Regions from separate parts of the Homo sapiens genome. Here region 1 is linked to region 2. The links are contacts of gene promoters, found by promoter capture Hi-C in blood cells and fetal thymus (Javierre and others, 2016). All regions are on one chromosome and are shown on one strand. The core of a region is centred on a gene start or on the middle of the fragment in contact, and the rest is flanking DNA. Distances in the headings are between cores, read along the strand shown. Region 1 holds the start of KDM6A (lysine demethylase 6A). Region 2 holds the start of NDP (norrin cystine knot growth factor NDP).

Region 1 (3,668 bases), core at 126-2,625, 900 kb before region 2:
TAAACAAGTCACCTAACTTCAGGTAACACACACTGCAATCGAGATACATGTCAACAGCCCAATGCAAACTCTTCACCGACCTAAACTCCGTGAAACTTCCCCCTTCTGGGAGCGGGGACACAAGAAAGCCTAAAACATTTGGTTAGCAGTAGGCATCACGAACAGCCTGCTTGAAGGAAAAGAATTTTTTTAAACCCGTAGAGGCAAGTTAAGTCCGAAATTTGGGAAAATCTGAACACACTCACGATCCCTTGACCCTAAACAGGCACCTCGAAGATCATCGGCCTACCCTCAAAAAGCTGTAAAATAGCAGGCAGTTGTGTCGACCCAGTTGAGCCCGGCCCCAAAGCGATCCCGTCTCTGTTCCTCCAGCTACAAGAGGAAAAGAGCGATTTCGCAAGGGAGCAAGCAGGGTACCCGGGGGTGGGGGGAGAGCAGAGGCAGGAAATAGTTTCCGGAAGCCCCTCGACCATCGTCCGTGGCCACAATGAGCACAGACCCGGCCGCGGGGCCCGGGGCGAGCGCGGCGCCGGCCAGGGAGACGGTGTCCGCGCTCCGACTCGCAGCTGCCTTACCTTGCCCAGTAGGGCCTTCGTCCTGGCGCCATCTTCATGAAATCTCACGAACCCAAAGAGGCGGCTGTGGAGACAGACACAGTTTACTCGTTAACGCTCAGGGAACGCCACCGACCCGTCCCTGCCCGAGCCCGAGGCCCCAGCGGAGGCGGCGCGAAGAGCGCCAAACCGAGGTGCCCGCCCCGCCGCCGCCAGAGACAAGCCGCGCTCGGTCCTCCCGGGAGAGCGGCTACTGCCCGTCCGGAGCCGACCGGGCGAGTGACGGCGGCCCGTACCTGTCCAGTCCGCCGAGCGCCTCCCTCTCCTCGGCTGTCAGGCTGGGGGACGCCTCCTCGCTCTCGCCGCTCGCTTTTCCCGCCGCCATTTTCTTTTCCTCATCACCGAAAGCGGCGGCGGCAGCGGCGGCGGTAGCGAGCGACACTCCGCAGGATTTCATGGAAACGCAGCGAATTCACAACTCCAACGCCGACACCCCCCCTCGGACCGGGGCCCGCAGTGACGCCCCCAATCTGCGCGCGGGACCAGCACACCAACTTTATCGCCGCCTCCTCCTCCGCCGCGGGCGGCGGCGACGAAAAATCCCAACGCGGCGGCGGTGAAGGCGGCGGCGGCGGCGGCAGGGGCTGCGGAGCCCCCGGGTCGGCAGCGGCGGCTTTCGGCTGTAGGGTCACATCGCGGGGTTGGGCAGGGGGCAGCCACAGGCGGGGACGGCGGGAACGGCCGGAGCGCGCGGGGCTGGGGAGCACTGAGGGGATTCGTTGGAGACACAAACTTCCCCGGCACCAGCACAAAGTTGTTGTAATTGTGTCACACAGCGAACCCCACGCCGCCGCCGTGACCCCCCCTCCCCGCCCGGCTGGCGCCACCAATCGGCGCGGCCCGCACGCCTCACGTGACCTTTGTTGACTCACGTCAGCCGTGGCTCCACTTAACTTGCTAGCTGCCCGAGCCCCGCCCACCGAGGCCGCCACCGAGATGGGAGCGGGACGCAGGCCAATTCTAGCCGGTGGTTGGCTGCTGGGCGCGTCTGTCGGGGGAAGGGTTGTCACCGAGAGGGAGCTTCCTGTTAGGTTGTGCTGGTTAAATACACTGGGGCAGAGAATGGAGGGTCCGGGCCGTGTCACCTCGGGAACCGCGGCGGGCTCTGGAGGGGGAGGGGAGTGGTGGGGAAGGGCGAGGTCCGGCACCGCCCGCGGCGGGCGCGAGCGGCGGGCGAAGACGCCAAGGACGGCATTTGCCTGCCCGCGAGCTCTGGGATGTGCCCAGACCGCGGCTCCGGCCGTCCCGCGCGCGCTCCAGGGGTCCCGGGACCCCACAGGGCCTGGTACAGGTCGCGTAGCCGGGAGGCGGCGCACGGCCCTCGACCTCTGCCCTCCGAAGAAGGCTCAGACTTTTGGCACTGCTGGAAATAATGGCCTCCGCGAGGAGGGCGCTCGGGGAGCGGCTGCCGGTCCCGTGCCCCGCGGTCCGGGTGCCGCCCTAGGCCAGACCTGCGCTGGCAGCCCCGATCACCTCACCCGCGCCGAAAGTGAAGGGGGAAGGGCTCCCCTGACCCCCGCCCATACGCCCCAGGCCGGAGGGAATGAAGAGTCGCCCGCGGGGCCTGGCTTGCCGACCATGGCTCCCCACCGCCAAAGGTCTGTCTGTTGGCGGCACTTTGGGGCCAGATTTTCGTGCTGTGTTTACCCTGTGTCTTATCAGTAGTTCATTACAGTCTTACAAGAAAAAGCAATGAGAAATTGTGAAGCGGGATCTGCAGAATGTTGGGTTCTATTGCCATGATTTCAGTGGAGCCTTCTTACAAAAGTAGGGGCTGCTTGTGGACAGACCTGAGAGAAGACATAATTAAATCATCACAGCTGGTGGCCCAAGAAATCCTTTCTATCCCCCAAAACCTGCAGGTTTGTAACCCCTAGACAACAGTAACATTTTGTTGTTCTGTCTCTCAGGTGCAGGGGAAAGGCTTTAGTCTGACTTTTAATCTTTACTATAGGTGAAAAAAAAATAGGCCTTTCGACTACTCTTCTCAAAAGGCAAATTTATTTACTAAGCTGTATGTCTTATAACAGGGATAGGAAAAAATTGATAGACATATAAGGACAAGATTCTGTTTATAAACGGAGTTTTTTATATTTTCAATAGGTTTTCCACCTGTAACCAATAAAAATTATATATTTAAACTTGGATTTCAAAATATGACGAAGACAATTCAGTGCTGACCCAGTAATTCCTACCAGTATTCAGCGGGAAGCTATGGGAATCCCAACTGATTTTGCACACAGTTTTAAATTGTTCCCCTGAGACTAGTAACTAGACGAACAAACTGTAGTTTTGTATAGATTATAGTTCATGTTTAATTACTTCCTCTGAAACACCTTTCCCTTTATGATACTCCATTTTGCTTGAATGAGTGTGTACAAAGGGCCAAATCTTTTCTACGGCTAAATTAATACATTGTTAACTTTGTCACAAATGGTGACATTTAAAGCCAAGGAAATTTTGACCCCAGTAACTCGCTCGCACACTCTCTCATACACACACACACACACACACACATACACACACACTTGCACAAGCACAGATAGACATTTTGCTGGTATTTGACTATCTCCCTGAAGTTAGCAGTTCCTGACTCAGGTCCTTTTCAAGGATTATAAGGCTACTCAATCCCGGCCGGGCTCTGTGGCTCACGCCTGCAAAGGGAGGCCGAGGCGGGCGGATCACGAGGTCAGGAGTTGGAGAGCAGCCTGGCCAATGTGGTGAAACCCCACCTCTACTAAAAATACAAAAAACAAAATTAGTCGAGCATGTGGCGCTCGCCTGTAGTCCCAGCTACTCGGGAGACTGAGGCAGAAGAATCGCTTGAACCCGGGAGGTGGAGGTTGCAGTGAGCCATGATTGCACCTCTGCACTCCAACCTGGGGACAGAGTGAGGCTCTGTCTCAAAAAAAAAAAAAAAAAAAAAGGCAGCCAGGCGCTTTGGCTCACGCCTGTAATCCCAGCACTTTGGGAGGCCGAGGCAGGTGGATCACGAGGTCGGGAGATGGAGACCACGGTGAAACCCCGTCTCTACTAAAAATACAAAAAATTAGC
Region 2 (3,557 bases), core at 497-2,996:
TTGAGAAAGCCACAGATTATTTCTTGGGAGAAATGAGAAGGTGGACGGATGTCAAGTTCTGATATTTGAAAATGTTGGTGGCCAAAGAGTTTATTCCCCCTCCCAATCTGACCCACAAAATTAGGCCAGAAAATGTATTCCTGACTGTTTCCATGGCTCTTACTCAGCTACAAGTCATTTCCCCTTTCAGATTATTTCCAGTTTTAAGGCCCAATTTCCATTTGCTTTTTGATCTTCTGCTTTTAAGATATTTAGCCAATATCATCATCAGCCAAGTGCCAGGTTTTTTTTCAAGGCTTTGAATTTGTCATTTATCCATGATCTTCGCAGGTGGATTCTGTTTGTGACTGGCTGGTCCAAGGTAGACAGGGTATTTTTTTTTCCAAGTGGAGCATAAGAAAAGGGATTTCTGGCAATAAAACTGAAAGTTTTAAGACACCTCTTGCAAATATCAGTGACTGGAGTAAAGGTCCCATGGAAAAGTAATAAGGTGAATGTAAATTTATTAATGAATAACAAATAGTTTGATACAGAGTTGAACAAGACAGTTTCAGCATCAACAATTACATGAAGCTCCCAAGAAAAATTTCTTTTTGAGTTTTATAATGTATTATTTTTTCCACGAAATATATATATTTTAAATTCTCAGTTTAATTCTTCATCAGTAGTATTAATAAAACAAATTATTCTGGGTCTGATTTACCTGACATAAAATAATTATTAAATGTTCTTTGTATTTTCCTCCAAAATCCCTGACGGTTTTCTGTGTTAATTTTAAGCTTTCAAAGGGCAAGAATTATGAAATATTTGCCTTTGTAGTCCCACAGCTCATAACACAGCATGATTCAGCTGCAGGTATTTAACCCACACACATAGTTACCTTTGTCACTTTTCTACTAGTTGTTGTGTAATGGGTTAGCTTTATCTATTAGTTTCTCCTTCATATAGCTCAAGGAGTCAAGGAATACACGTTCTCATTGTTTCTAAATCAGACCTAAAGTTTTATTCTAAATGATGCAGATGAAGGGGCTTATTAAAGTGCCATTGTGAATTTAATCATGTATATGCTGCTAAAAATCATTTAATGGATGAACAACCCGGAAAAAAAGAACTCTCACCACCCACACACATCGTGATAAAATAGGGCAGCGTTTTGCACTTGCTTTAACAGCATCGCCTGAGAAAAAAATTTCTGGTTCCCATCTTTCCCCTCTCTTACTTAAAATTTCAACTTCATCACAGTCAGCTGCCGAATCGTTCAACAGAATGCCACACTGCCTTTGTATTTCCAAAACTATACGTCTCTATTGCGGACGGCACATCTTTATGGCAGCCACATGCTTGAAAAAGAATTAAATTCAGAATATTCATTTGGCCTCTTATTAGTTCCATAATACCATTAAAAAAGAAAGAAAGAAAGAAACTTCCTCGCCCTTGTTCTGCTACGCTGTTCCCATCGTAAGATGCTCCGTGGAAGGGAGCCGAGCGGTGGGCAGAGGCTGAGTCCCCGATAACGAGCGCCTCACATTTCCGTGGCATTCCCATTTGCTAGTGCGCTGCTGCGGCCGCACGCCTGATTGATATATGACTGCAATGGCACTTTTCCATTTGACATTCTCTCTCTCTCTCTCCCTCTCTCTCTCTCCCTCTCTCTCTCCCTCTCTCTCTCTCCCTGTGTCGCTTAAACAACAGTCCTAACTTTTGTGTGTTGCAAATATAAAAGGCAAGCCATGTGACAGAGGGACAGAAGAACAAAAGCATTTGGAAGTAACAGGACCTCTTTCTAGCTCTCAGAAAAGTCTGAGAAGAAAGGAGCCCTGCGTTCCCCTAAGGTAAGCAGGAAAACAAGCGCTGCCGGCTTGCCTAGGAAATCGCTTCTTTCCAAACCGAGCATTTCATCCTCCTCTCAGACAAAGAGACAACCTTTAAATACCACTTAAATTTGCATTACTTTAATTTGCATTAATCTGTAGCATGCTAGCATTGTGTTTCTTAAATGAACGGGTCTTTGAAGTCTGTGACAGAGCAGGGAGCCTCCTAGAAAAGCTTGAAAATATCTTTTGGTTTGACTTAAAGAGATTTTTCTTTTCAAACTCTCTGCGTAGTTAGATGTAACTTTGTGATGGTTCTTATAGTTGACCCCGTGAAAGGGGGCTGCGAAGCAGCAACTTGCCAACATGGATTCATGGAGCCCAGTATCTTCCCCAGCACCCTCATCCCACTTACAATGGGGGCACTATTAACGCAGGCAAGACTGCGAGTTTAAAAGCGCACTGTTTACTTTTATTACTACTTATGTATGCTGCTGATCTCCTGCCAGGGCTCTGCCGGAGTGCTCAGAATGACTTCAAACAATAGGCAACATTTATTTCTAGCTTTCTGTGTCACGCTTTGCAGGAATCCTGCTCCCTTGCACTCTTCTTTCAGCGTGCAGGTCTTCGCTTCCATAGATGCATTGGGGAGCACCGGGAGGAGATGAGGATGGATTTACTGTATGATTTTGATTGGGCAAAAAGTCCGAGGAAATGCATGCTGTTTGCCTTGGACTTATTGCAGGGGGTTATTTTTAGTCATCAGCTCGTCCCTGCAGCATGATGTTCAAGGAGTGACCGGGAAAGGATGCTCCCACCAGCACAGAGACCAGGACCTGTAGGAATGACTCCTACCTGCGGGATATTCCGAGGTTTCTTTCAAACTTTGGAATACAAGTTCTCTCTTTAAATGAACAATTGAGCTGTAGGAGGCCTGGGCATAACTCTTTCTTGGGGGACGGGAAGTTTGATTGTGTACAGAATGTTAATGACTCAGAACGCCCAGTAACTGAGGCTCATTGTAATAGACAAACCCAGATAAGCCTCCATGAGAGGCAGACTCCCATCTTTACTGAGATTCAGGTGCGGGAAAGGAAGCTATTTGGCAAGATGGGAGTCCCTTGTACAGTTCTTTGTAACTCATTAATAACAGATATGGCTGCTGTGAAACATGTCTCTTTTCATTTCTAATATTAGTGTATTTTAATTACAAGGAGCTGGCATTGGCAAATTACCCCAACACATAAGATTAAATACCAGGTGCATTTGAAAACAGAGAGATGACTGAAATGGGGAGTTGCTGTGGGTGTCAACCAAATACAGCGGGGACGGCACAATGCTTCTCAACTGAGCGTTTAAACCAGATGCAAATATCTGCTCATTTTCTTCTCATCAGTCTTACTAATTCAAGGAAACTTTATGGTCCTGTTTGCCAGTTTTCATTGCAAATTGGTACACAGTTTATGCAAAACTTTTCTGATTTTCTCTGATAACCAGCCCAATAAGCATCGCTGAATGAAAATCTGATATTTGAATAGGTTAATTTACAACTTTGGGGTATTCATTAGTCAAGAAAGCCATAAAAGACACTATGGATTCCATTGCTGTAAAATTTTATTGTAATTTTTTTTTAAAAAAACTGCGGTTAGCAAAGCATTTAGCTGAATCAAAACAATTTTCTTAGACTATTATTCAGATCATTACATGAGAGTATTTGAACACAAAATGCAATGTTTTGCATCATTT

The links. The method cuts DNA at HindIII sites, captures the fragments that hold promoters and counts their contacts. A CHiCAGO score of 5 or more calls a contact.
Region 1: the fragment with the promoter of KDM6A here is called in contact with the fragment with the promoter of NDP in region 2 in 4 of 17 cell types (endothelial precursors, naive CD4 T cells, fetal thymus and 1 more); the score reaches 5.9 in endothelial precursors.

What each region holds. Positions count from the first base shown.
Region 1 is chrX:44,870,895-44,874,562 of GRCh38, reverse strand. KDM6A (lysine demethylase 6A) reads right to left here and starts at 1,375. Exons shown (of 30, transcript NM_001291415.2): 1 at 851-1,375; 2 at 576-639. The coding sequence starts at 1,011. RefSeq lists silencers at 376-475, 486-565, 606-865, 1,206-1,435, 1,686-2,185. The HindIII fragment of the contact is 16,030 bases long and covers 1-3,668 here.
Region 2 is chrX:43,971,579-43,975,135 of GRCh38, reverse strand. NDP (norrin cystine knot growth factor NDP) reads left to right here and starts at 1,746. Exons shown (of 3, transcript NM_000266.4): 1 at 1,746-1,832. The HindIII fragment of the contact is 1,267 bases long and covers 782-2,048 here.